Regions from separate parts of the Homo sapiens genome. Here all the other regions are linked to region 2. The links are contacts of gene promoters, found by promoter capture Hi-C in blood cells and fetal thymus (Javierre and others, 2016). All regions are on one chromosome and are shown on one strand. Each heading gives the region's core, a stretch centred on a gene start or on the middle of the fragment in contact. The rest is flanking DNA. Distances are from core to core; before and after follow the strand shown. Region 1 has its middle 28 kb from the start of SIAH3. Region 2 holds the start of ERICH6B (glutamate rich 6B). Region 3 overlaps CPB2 (carboxypeptidase B2). Region 4 overlaps ZC3H13 (zinc finger CCCH-type containing 13). Region 5 overlaps CPB2 (carboxypeptidase B2).

Region 1 (3,852 bases), core at 1,109-3,608, 260 kb before region 2:
AAAACATGGCCTTCTGCTGGAGGAAGGCTACTTCTCATTTATGGGATGGGCCCTAGTGAGGCACTAGGTCCTGGGCTTCTCTTTGATAGGAAACTTTTTAAATATTACTGATTCAACCTTATTACTCATTATTGGTCTGTTCAGGTTTTCTATTTCTTCATGATTCAATCTTGGTAGGTTGTATGTGTCCAGGAATTTATTAATTTCTTCCAGGCTTTCCAATTTGTTAGCATATAGTTGTTCATACTAGTCTTTTCTGATCCTTTGTATTTCTGTGGTATCAGTTGTAATGTCTCCTTTTTCATCTCTGATTTTATTTGAGTCGTCTCTTTTTTCTTTGTTAGTCTAGCTTACAGTTTGTCTATTTTATCTTTTCAAAACGCCAATTCTTCATTTTATTGATCTCTTATAATGTTTATTTAGTCTCTACTTTGCTCATTTCTGCTCTGATCTTTATTATTTCTTTCCTTATACTAATCTTGGTTTTAATTTGTTCTTGTTTTTCTAGTTCCTTGAGGAGCAACATTAGGTTGTTTGAGATCTTTCTCCTTCTTCGACGTAAGCATCTATCGCTGTGAACTTCCCTCCTAGAACTGCTTTTGTTGTATAGGTTTAGTAAGTTGTGTTTCCATTTTCATTTGTCTTAATAAATTTTTTAATTTCCTTTTAAATTTCCTTGTTGACCCATTGGTTGTTTAGGAGCATGTTGTTTAATTTCCATGTAATTATACACTCTCCAAAGTTCCTCCTGTTATTGATTGCTAGTTTTATTCCAGTGTGGTCAGAAAAGATACTTGATATAATTCTGATTTTGATTTTTGAAAATTTGTTAAGATTTGTTTTGTGGGCTAACTTATAATCTATCCTGGAGAATGTTCTGTGTGCTGTTGAGAAGAATGTGTATTCTGAAACTATTGGATGGAATTTTCTGTAAATATCTGTTAGGTCCATTTGGTCTAGAGTCCAGTTTAATTCTGATGCTTCTTTGTTGATTTTCTGTCTGGATGATCTGTCCGTTGCTGAAAATGGGGTGTTAAAGTACACTACTACAAGTGTATTGCAGTCTATCTCGCCCTTTAGATCTGTTCAATGTTTGCTTTACATACTTAGGTGTTTCAATGTTGAATATAGATATTTTTTTCAATTGTTATATCCTCTTGCTGTATTGACCTCTTTGTTACTATAGGATGGCCTTGTCTCTTTTTACAGATTTTGGCTTGAAGTCTATTTTATCTGATATAAGTATAGCTACTGTGCCCTTTTTTGTTTCTATCTCAAAATTTTTGTCCTAAAGGAGGCTTCAAGGATGGTTGTATTAAATTACCACTTAAAACGGCAAATGCAGTAAATTATTTAATGACTTTTCCACTGCAAGGTTTGGGCTTTTGTTTTCTTCGAATTAAAAATGAAAAAAAAAAAAGCAATTTCAGCAAGACACCATTCAATGTTTTTCAAGTCTGTGGAGTTCCATTCCCAGCTTTACTGCCAGAAAAAAGCATGTCAATCATGTAACTGAAAGGAGCTGAAGGAAGACCTTTCCAGGAGAGCTCTGATTCAAGGCGTGAGGACCAGCGCCAGCAACCACCAGGTGGCTTCTGCTATTCTGGGAGTGAATGAGGCCATGTGCCAGAGGTGTGAGTCCACTCATCGGCCAAAGACAGAGGCACTAAACACTGACCCTGCGTGACACGGATGAGCCTGTTCCTGCCTGGCTCACAGGCTCCCTGTCAGGGAGAAAGAATAGTATTTCTCAACCTTCTTATATTAACACAGGACAATTGGTGCTTTATGTTCTGTATCCTTCTGAGTCCTCACACCAACCCTGTGCAGTAGGTACAACTCTGCCCCTCTCCTCCAAGTGGAAAACGGCTCAGAATGAGAAAATAACTCCCTGAAGTTAACACAGATGGTGAAACAGGGGGCCAGTAGGACTCTGGAACCCTCCCTGCTTCTGCCACACCACAAAGCTTCATTCAGCAACCTCAGAGGAGAAGCCGCAGCAGCTATTGGGAGAGGAGGTTTTTCCAGTTTAGTGGAACACATGAAAGTTGGAAAGCAGCAATAAAATATGGTGCTGCTAAACCGACCAATCAGTTAAGGCCAAGTCCTAGGGGCTTTGAGTGCTATGATGAGGCTTACTGCCTGTGTGGAGTAATTAATGGGGAGCCACTGAGGAGCTGTGAGGAAGGCAGCATCCACACCAGATCTTTAGGGCATCTCTTCCCGCAGCTATCTGAGGACAAACCAAAATGAAAGGGCTTTATGAGTGTCAGATGAGCGTGAGGGCACTAGGAAGAGACACCAAGAACACGTGGTGATGATGTAGGCTCCAGAGCGTGGACTATGTTTTCTGAACAGTGAGACTTTCTTTCTGTACACATCATCTCATGGGAGGAGGCAGCATAGTGTGCTGGTCATATGCACTACCCCGCTCTGCCTCTTTATAGCTGTGTAATTTAGGGCAAATTACTTTCCCTCTCTGTGCTTAGGTTCCTCTTCTATAAAATGGGCATCATAACATGCACCTCACAGGATTGTTCTGAAAGATATCTGAGAAAAAGTTTATTTAATATGTAGCAGAGTATTACATATTTATGAATGGCAGCCATTATATAACTATTTGAAATGGATAAAAGTACTTTGCTCTTTCAATATACCTGGGCAGGCAGGTCTGACTAGAGTCAAAACTATGAAGTAAGTAAAATTAATCTTTGATCTTCCATCTCTAATTCTCATCTCCCAAGCTTCAAAGACCAATGATTATTTTGTAACTCATTTGGTGCCAAACCTGACCCAAAGTCAGGAAGGCTAATGATAGGCTTTATTTTACTTAGTGTGAGGACACATTTTACTGCTGAAGTGTTCATGCATTTGCTAATGGGGAGTTAGGCTGCGGTGCCCAGCTGTTTCATCAAATACTAGTTTAGAAGTTGTGTGATTGACATCTAAAATCAGTTGACTTTAAGTAAAGGAGATAATGGTTAACTTGCGGGTGGACTCCTGTGTTGGTTTGCTAGGGCTACCGTAACCAAGTAACACAGACTGGGTGGCTTAAACAACAAAAATGCCTTTCTCACAGTTCTGGAGGCTGGAAGTCCGAAATCAAGATGGTGGCAGGGTTGGTTTCTCCTGAGGCCTCTCCTTGGCTTGCAGATGGCTGCTTTCTCCCTGCATCCTCACATGGCCTGTTCTCTGGTGTTTCTTCCCACTACCCCACCCTGTCACCTCATTTAACCTTCTTCACCTCTTTAAAATCCCTGTCTCTGCCGGGTGCAGTGGCTCAAGCCTGTAATCCCAGCGCTTTGGGAGGCCGAGGCAGGCAGATCGTGAGGTCAGGAGTTCAAGACCAGCCTGGCCAATATGGTGAAACCCCATCTCTACTAAAAATAGAAAAATTAGCTGGGCATGGTGGCGCACATCTGTAGTCCCAGCTACTTGGAAGGCTGAGGCAGCAGAATCGCTTGAACCCAGGAAGTAGAGGTTGCAGTGAGCTGAGACTGTGACACTGCACTCCAGCCTGGGCGACAGAGTGAGACTCTGCCAAAAAAAAAAAAAAAAAAAAGCCCTGTCTCCAAATGCAATCACTTTGGGGGTGAGGGCTTTAACACATGAATTTTGGGAAGACACATTTCAGTCCATACGAGCCTCATCCAATAAGCTGAAGGTCTTAAGAGCAAAAACAGGTTTCCTAAGGAAGGAATTCTGCCTCAAGACTGAAACATGGAAATCCTGCCTGAGTTCCCAGCCTGTCTTACAAAGTTTAGACTTACCAGCCTCCATGATCATGTGAACCTCACTCTTTTTGTTTGTTTGTTTGTTTTTTGAGATGGAGTCTTGCTCTGTTGCCCAGGC
Region 2 (3,567 bases), core at 872-3,371:
GAGCCCGTATAGCCAAGACAATCCTAAGCAAAAAGAACAAAGCTGGAGGCATCATGCTACCTGACTTCAAATTATACTACAAGGCTACACTAACCAAAAAGCATGGCACTGGTACCAAAGCAGAGATATAGACCAATGCAACAGAACAGAGGCCTCAGAAATAACACCACGTATCTACAACCATCTGATCTCTGACAAACCTGACAAAAACAAGCAATGAGGAAAGGATTCCCTATTTAATAAATGGTTTTGGGAAAACTAGCTAGCCATATGCAGAAAACTGAAACTGGACTCCTTCCTTACACCTTATACAAAATTGACTCAAGATGGATTAAAGATTTAAAGTAAGACCTAAACCATAAAAACCCTAGAAGAAAACCTAGGCAATACCATTCAGGACATAGGCATAGGCAAAGACTCCATGGCTACACCACCAAAAGCAATGGCAACAAAAGCGAAAATTGACAAATGGGATCTAATTAAACTAAAGAGCTTCTGCACAGCAAAAGAAACTGTCATCAGAGTGAATAGGCAACATACAGAATGGCAGAAAATTTTTGCAATCTATCCATCCGACAAGGGCTAATATCCAGAATCTACAAGGAACTTAAACAAATTTACAAGAAACAAACAACCCCATCAAAAAGTGGGTGAAGGATATGAACAGATACTTTTCAAAAGAAGACATTTATGCGGCCAAGAAACGTATAAAAAAAAACTCATCATCACTGCTCTTTAGAGAAATGCAAATCAAAACCACAATGAGATACCATCTCATGCCAGTTAGAATGGCAATCATTAAAAAGTCAGGAATCAATGGATGTTGGAGAGGATGTGGAGCAATAGGAATGCTTTTACACTGTTGGTGAGAGTGTAAGTTAGTTCAACCATTGTGGAAGACGGTGTGGCAATTCCTAAAGGATCTAGAACCAGAAATACCATTTGACCCAGCAATCCCATTACTGCGCATATACTCAAAGGATTATAAATCATGCTGCTGTAAAGACGCATGCACACGTATGTTTATTGCAGCACTATCCACAACAGCAAACACTTGAACCAACCCAAATGCCCATCAATGATAGACTGGATAAAGAAAATGTGGCACATATACACCACGGAATACTATGCAGCCATAAAAAAGAATGAGTTCATGTCCTTTGCAGGGACATGGATGAAGCTGGAAACCATCATTCTCAGCAAACTAACACAGGAACAGAGAACCAAACACCACATGTTCTCACTCATAAGTGGGAGTTGAACAATGAGATCATATGGGCACAGGGAGGGGAACATCACACACTGGGGCCTATCGGGGGCGGGGGGGCAAGGGGAGAGATTACATTAGGAGAAATACGTAATGTAGATGACGAGCTGATGGGTACAGCAAAACACCATGGCACGTGTATACCTATGTAACAAACCTGCACGTTCTGCACATGTATCCCAGAACTTAAAGTATAATGAGAAGAAAAAGAAAAGGAAAGAAAAGGAAGGGCAAATTGCAAGCACTTCAAAGACTGAGGTCCTTCTGAAACCTCTGTGACAACTGACCAGGAATGCCTACATAGAAGTGGTTTGCAACCCAGCCTCCCACCCCACCTGACCATTCTGCCACTCCTGCAAGTCCACTCACAGTGGCCAGGGCATGGGAACTCAGCTTTCTCCAACCCTTGGCCCCAGATCAACCCCTTGTGGGTCTCTCTATCCCTTTCAGGGCAGTTCCTTTCCTGGGGACCAGCTCCAGTGAGCCCATTCAGGGCCTTGAGAGCCACATGTCCCATCTCTTCATCTACGCAGCCACCACAAGCTTAGCACTGGACCCCAGGATTCTAGAAAGTCCCAGCCTGGAGGTCTGACGTGTACTGTCTCCATTCAGGGAAACACAATCCCCACGGCTGCAACTTCCCCCTGACACAGGCGACCTTCAGGCAGACAGCAGGAAAACTTTCTGGCCGCCGCTGACGACTGGTCCAAACAGTTCCCCGCCAGGAGAGAGGCTGGGAAAGGGAAGGCAAGGGCAGGTGCAGAGGCTTAGAATTCTCCGCCACGCACACACGCAGATTAGATGGGGCCCAGGGAGGCTGCGGAGTGCGGTTCCCATGGTAACCGAGAGCTGCCACAAACGCCGGGGCCTGAGATCGCGGTGGATGCACGCGCGGGAGCCTGGCTTGGGTAAGGGCTGCGCACGTTAGCAATGCGCTCCTCCTCCTCTTTCTCCTCCGCCTCCCTCTCCACCCACTCTCCTCCTCCTCTTCCCCCTCCTTCTCTGAGGGAGAAAGCAGGGAGCAGAGTGGAGGATCTGGGCAACAAAGAAGCGCCAAGTACATAGACTTCTTTGTTTCTCTCGCCCTTTCTCGGCCTCTCTATTCCCTTGGCCTTTCTGACATCTGCTTCGACCCAGCTTCTTCCCATTGTGAAGGCCGTTGTTGGGTCATGATATTTCTACAAATAAAGGATAAGGGGTCACTTTCTCTCCAGAGAGCCCCTAGCTCTGGGGGGAAGTGCGAGTGTGGATACTATGACTTCTTCCTTGACAGCCTGAATATAGACCAGTCCCCCAACCAGGAACAAATTCCCCAGATCGAAAACTCCAGCCTTGCCCACGAAGCGACTCCTGTGGCCCAAAGGCAAGTCACTCAGCTTCCCCTGTTTCCTTCCCCTACCTCTCTAATGTGGGGGGTAAACAGCAGTCCTAACTGGCCTTCCAGGGAGATGTGAGCAGTGACCAAGGTCAGTGTTTTTACAAGTGTTCTGTTCCAAGTGATGGCTCAAAGTCACCCTCCTTGAAAGTTCAAACCTGAATATATTCGAAATTCTATTTATAAAAAAGGTCCTAGGAAATGATGTTGTAATGAGTGCACTGGGTGTCTATAGTGCTAAACACTGCACTGATTGGTCTAAGGGGGTTGCCAGAACATTTTGATTTCATGTTTGCCCCCTGGCATGTTTTAATGTAGATCCAGATCAGCCCAGGCCTGGCACCATGGAATTCACAGAAGTAGGTCATCAGTTGTTCCCCTCATGGGGGAGAGCAGCAGACTTCAGCCAAGAATCACACAAGTTAATGAACAAGGTTATAAACAGCTATGGTAGATGATAACAGCAACAAGAACACATTACGTTTGCAGAGCACCATGGAATCCTTGGAGTCCTTTACAGAAATGAGGCTTCTCACCTTGATCCATCTAGGGTTTCCAAGCATCGGCTGGGAGAAGCCCAGTGAAAGCCAAGGGTCACCCACTCCATCTTCTTCACCAGCTCCCAGCTTGCTGTCTTAGCCCACCCATAACTCATCTCTTGAGTTTCCCCCATAGCAGGAGGGAAAGTGAAGTGATGGGGGCTGAAAAGTCCAAACCAGAAATTTCATTTGTGGTCAGCCTCCTGTGTGCCTCTCCTTCCGTTGGATCATCCATTCGATCCACATCCTTCTGTTGAAATCCTGCTACGTGCCTGACATGGTGCCGGGCTACAGTCTCATGGGTGAGGCAGACACACAAACCAGGGAGAAGTGCAATAGGAGAAAGGCAGTGAGAGAGCAGTCAGGAAAAGAGAGACTCTTTCTGG
Region 3 (3,520 bases), core at 86-2,585, 460 kb before region 2:
TGGGCTTTCTTACTTACTATCCTGTTAAATATTGCTAGCTCCAAGTTAGGAAAAAACCTCCTGGAGTGGTTCAAATGACAATCTAAATATCTAACTCTTTCTTTTTCTTATTTTGGAATTGCAAGTCTACATATTTGTTTGATTTTACAACAGTCTTCTCCCTTCCCTCTATACCAGTGGTCCTCAACCCCTGGGCTGCAGACAGGTACCAGTCCATGGCCTGTTAGGAACGCGGCCACGCAACTGGAGATGAATAGCCAGCGAGCAAGCATTACTGCCTGAGCAATGCTTCCTGTCAGATCAGTGGCAGCGTTAGATTCTCATAGGAGCACAAACCCCACTGTGAACCGCGCATGCAAAGGATTTAGGTTGCATGCTCCTTAGGAGAATCTAATGCCTGATGATCTGAGGTGGAACAGTTTTATCCCCAAACCATCCCCACCACTGATTCCACCCCAACTCTGCCCCATCCATGGAAAAATTGTCTTCCATGAAACTGGTCCCTAGTGCCAAAAAGGTTGGGGACCACTGCTCTATACCCTAAACTGTGTTGTAGCTGACTTTTAAAGGCAAATACATTATGATTAATTTTGGAGGTGTTCTTGATAATTCTTCTAAAGACATCAAAGGCTATTATTGAGAAAAGGTTGATGATTCTTATTCCAGAGTTAGCAGCTTGTGTTAGCCCACCATACTGGGAAAAAAGCCTCTGTCCCTGGATTTGCTGGTAAGTTCGTGAGAGGTTAGATGTGTGCTTCTTTTTGTGTGAAATAAAGAAATAATCCACATAAAAAAAAAATATGCACTCAGGAAAATCTTGAGGGAGTTTTTGCTCTGGGTGTGTCTCCACACCTCCCGGGGAAGATTGCCATCCAACTCACACCCATTTACCTCTAAATGAAGCATGAAGATACAGCCCAAATCATTAGTTCTCTGGTCTCTTCTTTGAAACTTCCACATGCAGCTCTGACATGACTGCATAATTGTGGAGGATAAAAACAGTTTTAAATCAAAGAGTCCTGGCTTCAAACTTCAGTTTCAATTCACACCAGCTTTGCTACCTTAACTAATGTCACTTAGTATCACCAGTGTTTAAATTTCCCTTGAGAATTTTCAAAGAAATGCAGAACAATGCATATCTCAGAGATTTGCTGAAACTATTAAATATAAGCACTATATAAATGAAAGTTATTATCCTGAAGCTTATTGTTACTGTTTTTGCTACTTTTGGGGTTTCTTTGAGCAGGTTTCTGGAAAAGAACAAGCAGCCAAAAATGCCATATGGATTGACTGTGGAATCCATGCCAGAGAATGGATCTCTCCTGCTTTCTGCTTGTGGTTCATAGGCCATGTAAGTATTCACATTCTCTTAACCCTATTTCTCAAAATGGTGCCCAAGATCACCTGTGTCAGACTCAACTGGGCTATTTATTAAAATGCATTTTCCTAGGTCACATCATGAAGCTTGGGAATCTACAATTTTCACAAGTTTCCCAGGTGACTTTTATGCATTAGTAAGTTGAAGAACATGACTTCAAGCATTTAAATCACCCAAAATATTTTTGGTCTTTTCTACATTTCTGCCTGGAGCTAAACAGTGGAAAATGATTAAGAAATAGTACATTGATTATAATATGTTTACTAAGTAGAGGAAAGGACTGAAGGAGTTATCTAAGTTGGGGCCCAATTAATTTATTTCTCTTTTGGTTTTAATTATCCAGACATCTTTTGCCACCTTTGCCCTTGGAAATTGAACATAAAGCACAACATTACAGAGGTGAAACAGAATATGTTTTCTCATATGTCATAATAGGGAATTTTGTTCCTGAAGAAGGGTTTTGCATCAAAAAAGCCATATATAAGACAAACTGTATGTTGGAAAAGTAAAAGATATAACGACTATTAACCTCCCTGATGAATGAAAACAGTAAAAATTATGCTTCAAATCCTATAAAATGGGCATATATGTTCTCTACACTGATTTCTACAAAGAATCATAGCCACTGGAAAAATAACTCAAAATATGTGTCTTTCTGATAATGATTTTTGCAGTCTTTGCATTCACAGATACATAGTAACAGAATAAATGAGTTAGGAAATTAAGATATTGGCACTTATTAAGTACATCAAGATAAAACTGTTTCTGTCTTTGCTTGACCTTGACAAATGCAACATCCCTATTTGCCTTCATTCACTGTGAATCTTCTATCCTCCATTCTCCATGGATGGGAGCTGCAACCTCCCTGAGTCTACTGGAAATTCCCAAACACCATTGGTACTACCTTGGCCAAATGAGGATGATTCCAACTGATCAGACCCTTAACATATCCCAGTCACATCATGATCTGGAACCTTCCCCAAGTTGAGTAGTTTGGTTATTTTAGGTAGTGAAGGGAGCAGCAGTTAATAGAGAAAGGTCCAAAGTAGGAGAGTAAGAACATTTATTTTCCATTCTATCACTGAACATGAGAAGGGCCAAGAAGAAACCTCCATTCATATTGACTCTAATTTATATCGGTGAGGTTGTCCCTAATGACTGCCCTTCTCACCCTGACACCTCTGCCCTCCTATTAGACATCCTACCCTCTACCCAAACTGCTTGCTGAATCTTTGTAAGATTAAATTATTTAATCCACAAATATTTATAGATTGCCTATGATGTTTCAGATCCTGGAAATACAAGGATGAACAAAATATAGCCCAAGGATCTTATAGCTGAGTATTTTGCTCCAACAATGTGAACCTGATTTGTGTAGCCCAAAGAAACATAATCAATAAGGGCTTTTTAAATCGACATTTAAACTCCATTCTTGCCTGCCTAAAACTAATTCAGATCATCTGACTCTCTTAGTACTTCAAAGCACTGGAGGAGGGAAAGTAAAATAAAATATTTACCTTTCAACAATTGTGAAGGTAGGTTTTATATTCAAAAACTAAACCACCCAAAGGCAAATTAAAATCTTAGCTTTTAAGTCTCTCACTCTTTTCTACAACTCAATAAGGATTTCAAAAATCTTATAATCTAGTCTCAGTGGAAATCCACTACACTACACTTTGAGAAGCTTGAAGCCAGTCATTTCTTTCTAAGCTTCTCATTCATGTACTCTCGGGAGGCAAATTTAGATCCTTCTCTTTCCGCAAAGGCAGAGCTGAGACCAATTTGTGCATGACTGCATCACCAAGCCAAAATCCGGCACAGGGCTGGCACATCATAGGACCCAGTGAATATATGTTAACCATCACAACTTGCCAAGTACTTTTTCTGCCAAATGGCTTTTCTCACTGCTAACCTCCTGCCAAACCTCTGCCCTAGAAAACTCTCATCTAATTGCACACAAAGTTAGAGCTCTACAACCTCAGGGCCTTCACAGAATTATCTCTGCCCCTCCTCACCACAGCTGACACATGACCTAAGGACACTGCTCCCTGGTGGCTCCTTCAAGTAGAGGGGCTGCTCTTTTTTTCACATCACCATGTGCTGAGAGGCCTGGTGGAGTAGATCAGCATTCTCTTCTCCTGA
Region 4 (3,772 bases), core at 108-2,607, 380 kb before region 2:
GACATTCAATTACCTTATTAGATTGTCATAAAGATTAAGTGAGTTAATATATGACAAGCACTTAAAATAGTGTCACACACATAGTAGCAATATACGTTACTTGCTATTATTAATGTCATTACTATTATTATGTTAGTGGTTTTGTTCTCTTCATTTCTGTATCCTCATTGCCAAAAATAATGCTTGGAGCTTAGTATGTGCTCACTTAATATTTGTTGAGTGAATTAAAATGATTTAATAAATATAAACTTCATATGTAAAATAATAGAACCTAAATATTTCTACTTGCAAAATGTGTATTATGTTGTATTTTATCACTGAAAACAGAGATGATTTTGGTAGTGCCCATATTACCTTTGTGTTTTAAAAATGTATACATTTTACATGATTTTAAAGGTTAAAATATGAATGTTAGTGCATTATGTAAGCATATTTTCATATTTGAGAAATAGAAACCATTTTTTGAAAGAAACATTGGTGTTACTATTTTTAAGTAAGTCTGGGGTAAACCTATTAGTTTGCAGGTGAAATTACTTGCATCTTGAATGAGAGTTTTTATTTTTAAATTTCTTAACTTTTCACATTTTTTCCCAAAATGAAATATACCCTGAATATTCTCATTCCACACCACATCATATCCTAATTATAGCAGCACTAAAAAGTGTTTGATTGGAATCTAGTCAGACCAAAGATCAACTTTCCCTGGATACAATAAATCACAGTGCTCTTGATTACATTATACAGGTTTTTGTTTTAAGGTATTAAGCTTCTCTTCATTAAATAAACTTTCCTTTTTTCTTTATTTGAATTTCAAGTTTCACTAATTTTTTCCCTCAGATAAGAAACCAGCCAATTATAAAGCATAAGACGAATTAATCTGAAGTTACTTCTATTCTAAGTGGAAATGTACTTTACTATAGCTCTGTAATAGTCTATAGCCAAAGTACTATTAATTTTCACCAGATTTCAAGACAGTTTCGTTGCTTAGAATCATACCTTTTATATATGCAGAATGGACGTAGGTGAAGGTTGAGTAAAAAGAAAATATGATTAAAAAGTTGAAGCCATTATTTGACAACCCATTAGTGTTCTGACCTTAATGTGATAGCCCGATTATCCTAAGTTTGAAGTTTTTTCTTCCATGCTATAGCCATCAAGTTGAATAGAAACATGATTGGACCCTAATGTGTTTTTTAAAGGTAGTATATGTGAACTGTTTTGTTTTTTTAAGTTTTATGAACTAATAACTCAAGGCTATTGTAGACATTCTTGAAACAATTTTAAGTATACCCCAGAAATAAACACAGAAGTAACCAAAATATCAGTTCAATGGAGAACCATTCATTCTTTAGTTTTTTAAATTGACGAGAACCATCAAGCATGGTGGCTCATGCCTATAATCCCAGCACTTTAGGAGGCTGAGGCAGGATGATGGCTTGAGCCCAGGAGTTCAAGACCAACCGGGGTATAGTGAGACCTCGTCTCTATAAAAAATAAAACAAAGTAGCTGAGTGTGGTGGCATGTGCCTGTAGTCCCAGCTGCTCGGGAGGCTGAGGTGGGAGGATCACTTGAGCCCAGAAAGCCAAGAGTGCAGTGAGCCATGATCATGCCACTGTACTGTAGCCTGGGTGACAGCGAGACCTTGTCCCCCCGCCCATCCCCCCAAAAATTTACTAGAACCTAATGACATTGAAATTGAAAACAACCAGACAATACTGACTCTAATTTTTACTCTTGCAGTGATTTTTCTGTTCAGTAGGATGCATTTAGATGGGCATTGATCATAAATGGTTTTCCAAATTTGGCTAAGACCCGTTGAGTATTTCCACTCATATTAGCTGTTAAGTTAATAAATTTCTATTTAGAGTCAATTAAATTTTAGTAGCTTATGGCTTATCTTTTTATGTTAGAAAGGAATCACTATTTTATTAAAAGTATAAAGCTTTAATCAAGTCACAGAAAACTTGATGTTTAAGTGAGTGTAGTGTTCTAGTTAGCTGACTTTTCATTTACTGTCACCCAGAGGTATTTTTATTTGCCTAAATTCTTTTCTGCATATTCTTTCTAATATATTAGATCACATTCCTGACTTAGTAACATAGTTTATAGATTGAAACCTTTTTTTGATAAAAGGTTTACTAAGGCATCATTTATAAACAACATAGTTTAAGGTAGTGGTTCTCAACTGGGGGTGATTTTGCCTGGTAGAGGACATTTGGCAATGTCTGGAGTAATTTTTTATTGTCATAACTTGGAATGGGAGGGATGCTACTGGCATCTAGTGAGTTGAGGCCAGGGATGCTGTTAAACATCCTATATATAATGTACAAGACACTCCCCCTCCTCCGAAGAGTTACCCAGTACAAAATGTCAGTAGTGCTAGGGTTGAGAAACTGGTTTAGAATTAGTAATGATTTGTGCCATCACTGCACATACTAAAAAAATGTTTATCATAGACACTGAAGATAATTACAGAAATACTTTGACTTAAAAAATCAGAATTTTTTTGAATAAGCTTTTAGCTCTTGAGATGATTGCTTTGAGGAATATTTATCTGGGCATGTCTAGAATATTATATTTTAAACATTATTTCCTGCTGCTTCTTAGTTATTGCACAAAAGTTTGGACAGGACCCAGGTATAATAGACTCTAGGAGTGATTCAGATGTGCTTAATGATCACATCTGTTTCATGAGGTTATGTGTTGTTTCTCTGGTAGCAGTGAAAGAAAATGATTTGAAGGGAATAGGGGAGGCCTTAGTTGAACCAAGAACTATGAACTAACTCTCAGTTTGTGCTGCCCACAGTGAAGGCAGATTACTTAAGTTAAAGACAGTATATATTTTGTTATCCTTTCCTTAATTCTAGGATTCTTTCATAGTCCTAAATGTCAACCCATGCAGCGTGGACTTTTTGTTTGCCTTAGCTGATGCTACCTCCCCTTTTACCATAGCCATGAATTTACAGGCATTCTCAAAGCCACTTTCTCTCTAGATCTCAGTAGTATGTTTTGCCATAGTTTGTGGGTTTTCTCCCTCTAAGTATTTGTTCACACTTTCAGAGATTATCAGAGTGAATTCCATACTTTAAGTTAGGGTAGATGGTGTATGTTGGAAAATGCAGTGTACTTTGGCACCAAAGCCTGGGAGAAAAGCACTGCATATCTCTTCTTGAACTGTTGCTTCTAGTTGACTTAAAGTTAAGTCACGTCGTTAAAAAAGTGACTTACTTAGAATTTTACAGCATTGTGAATTAAAATTTATTCTGAAGTTATTGTCTATACTTTCATATTCACTTTTTTGTTTTTAAAGATTTTCCTTTGGCTAGAAATGAAGCTCTTGAATACATGTTTTATTGTTATTGTTTTCCCTTGTAGGTCTACTTCCCCAGCAGGACAGCATCATTCTCCTATATCTTCTAGACATCACTCATCTTCCTCACAATCAGGATCATCTATTCAAAGACATTCTCCTTCTCCTCGTCGAAAAAGAACTCCTTCACCATCTTATCAGCGGACACTAACTCCACCTTTACGACGCTCTGCCTCTCCTTATCCTTCACATTCTTTGTCGTCTCCCCAGAGAAAGCAGAGTCCTCCAAGACATCGCTCTCCAATGCGAGAGAAAGGGAGACATGATCATGAACGAACTTCACAGTCTCATGATCGACGCCATGAAAGGAGGGAAGGTGTGTACTGTACTTTGATTTTTTTAATTGAAAAATTGAACATCCAGCTTTATTGTTGTACTAAGAGATGGAGAAAGACTTTGCT
Region 5 (3,623 bases), core at 929-3,428, 480 kb before region 2:
GTTGAGGAAAATGCTTGGGTGCAAGAAATGGGGAGAGGGCTGGAGGAGGCTGGGAGAGCCATGAGACTGCAATGCAAGCTTAACCCCTGTGGAGGAGAGAGGAAAGGAAGGAAGCAGGTAGGGAACATTTCAGGTCGTAGTGCAGTTCTAAGAAAGTTTTGGCAAAACCAACCAAGAGTCCTGGCCAGGCACGGTGGCTCACACCTGTAATCCCAGCACTTTGAGAGGCCGAGGTGTGTGGATTACCTGAGGTCAGGAGTTCGAGACCAGCCTTACCAATATGGTGAATCCCCGTTTTTACTAAAAATACAAAAATTAGCCAGGTGTGGTGGTGCGTGCCTGTAATCCCAGTTACTCGAGAGGCTGAGGCAGGAGAATCACTTGAACCCACGAGGCAGAATTGTAGTGAGCCAAGATTGCTCCATTGCACTCCAGCCTGGGTGACAAGAGCAAAACTCTGTCTCAAAAAAAAAAAAAAAAAAAAAAGTCCTATAGCCAGAGTCACACATCAGAAGAGTTTCCAGTTTTGTAGAAAGAGCCTCCCTTAGTATCCCCACCATACTCAGTTATTAGCTGCAAGAAGCCAGTGGGAAATGTGGTATTAGCACTAACACAGGGACAGATTTCAGAGCACAGTAGCTGGGGGCTTATATCAAGTACACATCTTGCAGCTGGAGAGTGAGAAAGTTAATTAAAGCTGAGGCAAGACTGTAAATATGCACTGGTGTCTGTCCCAAGTGGATGTTAACTGTTCTGATGCTTTTTCCGACTGACATATCCAGCGCAATAGCTGAATACCATATGCCTGAGACTCTACCCCGGCAAAGATGCCACATCAAGCACTATGGCTGCAATTGAGATTGTTGCTTGGTTGAGTTTGATTGTTTGCTGTCGTTTTCCAGGATCCATCTGGTTTTTGTGGGATCCAGATGGCAAATTAAATGTGGATTTGATGGGATCTATCATCCCTGCATCTTTTAGGTCTTTAAGGGTGGTACTGATATTTGTCATTTCCCCTCAAGGATGAATTTTTTTTTTTTTAATTTTGATATCTTGGCTGGGAGGTTGGGCAATTTCAGAGGTTTCCTTTTGGCTTTTCCCACTATGATAGCTCTGGTCTTACAGTCAAGGAAACAATGTGGAGGTTCTGCCAACTACCTAGTATGTTCATGTCAATTATACATTTGGTGACCAGGGAAATAATGATGGGGGAATCCATTAACATGGTGCACCCGCTATGAGCTAGTCTTAGGCTAGGGCTCCAGATACCCAAGTTTCAAAATCAACTTGGATAGTGACCCTGCATCCAACACACCTGAAAATATTTGAGTATTACCCTTTCCCCAGGGTGCAGACTTACCTGAGGAAATTTCCATAGGTCTCTTTGGGAAAGGACTGAAGGAGTCATGATCTTTTTAGATTCTTTTTTTATACAGTTGCAGGGTCTTTCCTTGTGGGGACCTGATTCCTCCTTCAGGCAAGAAATTCTGGGTCTAAGAACAGCTCAGATCTGGAAAAGGGCAATGGATTATGACTTTTGATTAGGATAGCTGTCCTCAGCCTCTCTCATTATCCAGCTTTGATTTATTTTTATTGTAAAGATTGAGCAATCCTTTTGTTGGCTGCTTCTCTATCTTGCCCCTAAGAACTCTGTGTTCTCCTAACCGACTCCACAATTTTCTAAGGGTCATGGTCCTCTGGCTGCCACTCCGACCTTACTGCTCATTGTAATAACTGTGCCCAACTTGTTACTGGTGGTTAAGCCCTCCCGCCTGGCTTCTCTATACAGGGATCTTAACATCTCCATTGGTATCAGAGAGCTCAGTTCTGTAATGGCATGTCCTGTAGTTAGCCCTCAGGATCTATTCCCACCTCCCCTCCTGGCCTTCAAGCCAATAACCTAGGGTAGTCACAACATAAGCTGGCTGTGGAAGTGCTGGGCATGTTAACAAAGGAAAGGGACTATACCCCAAAGGAGGTGCACTCACCCATGCTACAGAATTTAACATTCTAGTTAGTTCCTTGAGAGGTGGTACAAACATGCTGTTAGGGTAGTTTTTGGAAGCTTGGAGAAAGCATGGCCTGCACCATCTGAGCTAGAAATGTCAGAGCGAATGTGGCAGATGGTGAAAAAAGAGATAGAGCACACTAGAATAAAAATGCTATGTAAGGCTAGAAAACCCACTGGGTGACTACGCTACTCCAAGGGCCCAGAGAACATTCTGTTTATGAAAATAATAAGGAATGTGCTGGTGAGATGAGAGGGTTACCAGCATCACTGAGAAGCTTGTTAGTGGCTTTTTCACAGTCAAAGGAGATTTTTCTTTAAATTTAATTTTCTTGAATAAATACAAGAATAGGAGTTCTTTTGGGTTTAAAAAGTAAATAATACAGAAAAGCATAAAATTAGGGAGAAAATACTAAAATTTCACCATCCTGGTGAAAATATGAACATGTTTGTGATCATCCTTTCATACATTTCTCCACATAGTTATACCTCCCTGGGTATAATTGTATACTAGTTCAATGTTGTATCTCCTATTGGTACTATAGAAACCTTTCTTTTAAAAAGAATCTCATTTGTTCTTCCCCTGCCACTTACCCAAGGCTTCAATTGCCATTTCCCACCCTCCAAATCAAAGCTAACAATGTGTTGTTTATTTATGTATAATTTTCTCCTGATTTTAACACATATAATTTTTCTTTATCTTTCTAACTTTTTTTCCAAAAATAGGATCATATTTCATAAAGTTCTCCATATCTTGCTTTTCTCCCTTAATATGCCATTTAAAGCCCCCAAGTTAACTGTTATAAATCAAACTCATTTTTTATAATGACTGAAAAGCATTCTAGAATGTGGAGACACTACCAACATTCGACAATTCTGTTACTGCTGAGCATTCACATGGTTTTTAGGTTTTGTTACTATGAATAATGCCGTAATACACATCCTTGAACATGTATCTTTAATCAGTGGTTTAATAGTTTATGCTAAACTTGTACCAGAGATTGACATAAAATTTCTCAGTCTAGCTACTTTTCCCCTCTTCTAATAAGCAAGTCTCTCCATAGACTTATTTCCAGAATTCAGAATATTTTACTCAGGATTTCCAAAATAAAGCCACCCTCCACCCTTGTTAAAGTTATCCTTGGTGGGCGCGGTGGCTCACGCCTGTAATCCCAGCATTTTGGGAGGCTGAGGCGGGTGGATTGTCTGAGGTCAGGAGTTCAAGACCAGCCTGACCAACATGGTGAAACCCCATCTCTACTAAAAATACAAAAATTAGCCGGGCATGGTGGTGCACGCCTGTAATCCCAGCTACTCAGGAGGCTAAGGCAGGAGAATCGCTTGAACCCAGAAGGTGGAGGTTGCAGTGAGCCAAGATCACGCCATTGCACTCCAGCCTGGGTGACAGAGCGAGACTCCATCTCAAAAACAAACAAACAAACAAAAACAAACAAAGGAAAACAAATAAAATTATCCCTATAAATCACAGCTCAAATGTTACCTTTCTAACTTCTAATTGCCTACAAGATAAAGTCCAAATTTCTCAGCATGCATTCAAGACCTTCTCTAGGGAAGGATGAACATAACTTCCCACACTCATTTCTGTTTAGCTCCC

The links. Contacts are between HindIII fragments. The CHiCAGO score rates a contact against its expected background, and 5 or more counts as called.
Region 1: a fragment that was not itself captured here is called in contact with the fragment with the promoter of ERICH6B in region 2 in 1 of 17 cell types (M1 macrophages); the score reaches 6.0 in M1 macrophages.
Region 3: a fragment that was not itself captured here is called in contact with the fragment with the promoter of ERICH6B in region 2 in 1 of 17 cell types (endothelial precursors); the score reaches 5.5 in endothelial precursors.
Region 4: a contact is called between a fragment that was not itself captured here and the fragment with the promoter of ERICH6B in region 2, in 1 of 17 cell types (M1 macrophages). The highest score is 5.0, in M1 macrophages.
Region 5: a fragment that was not itself captured here is called in contact with the fragment with the promoter of ERICH6B in region 2 in 1 of 17 cell types (endothelial precursors); the score reaches 6.1 in endothelial precursors.

The regions. Positions count from the first base shown.
Region 1 is chr13:45,877,615-45,881,466 of GRCh38, reverse strand. No RefSeq gene overlaps it. Among named protein-coding and RNA genes, the nearest start is that of SIAH3, 28 kb to the right of the region's middle. The HindIII fragment of the contact is 777 bases long and covers 1,970-2,746 here.
Region 2 is chr13:45,614,293-45,617,859 of GRCh38, reverse strand. It overlaps ERICH6B (glutamate rich 6B), which reads left to right and starts at 2,121. Exons shown (of 15, transcript NM_182542.3): 1 at 2,121-2,175. RefSeq lists an enhancer at 1,997-2,498. The HindIII fragment of the contact is 3,697 bases long and covers 1,813-3,567 here.
Region 3 is chr13:46,071,704-46,075,223 of GRCh38, reverse strand. CPB2 (carboxypeptidase B2) reads left to right here. Exons shown (of 11, transcript NM_001872.5): 6 at 1,247-1,351. All of the region lies in intron 1 of CPB2-AS1 (CPB2 antisense RNA 1), which reads right to left. Among named protein-coding and RNA genes, the nearest start is that of CPB2-AS1, 21 kb to the right of the region's middle. RefSeq lists enhancers at 3,380-3,449, 3,480-3,520. The HindIII fragment of the contact is 262 bases long and covers 1,205-1,466 here.
Region 4 is chr13:45,988,702-45,992,473 of GRCh38, reverse strand. ZC3H13 (zinc finger CCCH-type containing 13) reads left to right here. Exons shown (of 19, transcript NM_001330564.2): 9 at 3,377-3,687. Among named protein-coding and RNA genes, the nearest start is that of ZC3H13, 62 kb to the left of the region's middle. The HindIII fragment of the contact is 1,177 bases long and covers 769-1,945 here.
Region 5 is chr13:46,092,740-46,096,362 of GRCh38, reverse strand. The region is part of intron 1 of CPB2 (carboxypeptidase B2); the gene reads left to right. It overlaps CPB2-AS1 (CPB2 antisense RNA 1), which reads right to left. Exons shown (of 3, transcript NR_046227.1): 2 at 1,361-1,510. Among named protein-coding and RNA genes, the nearest start is that of CPB2, 10 kb to the left of the region's middle. The HindIII fragment of the contact is 221 bases long and covers 2,068-2,288 here.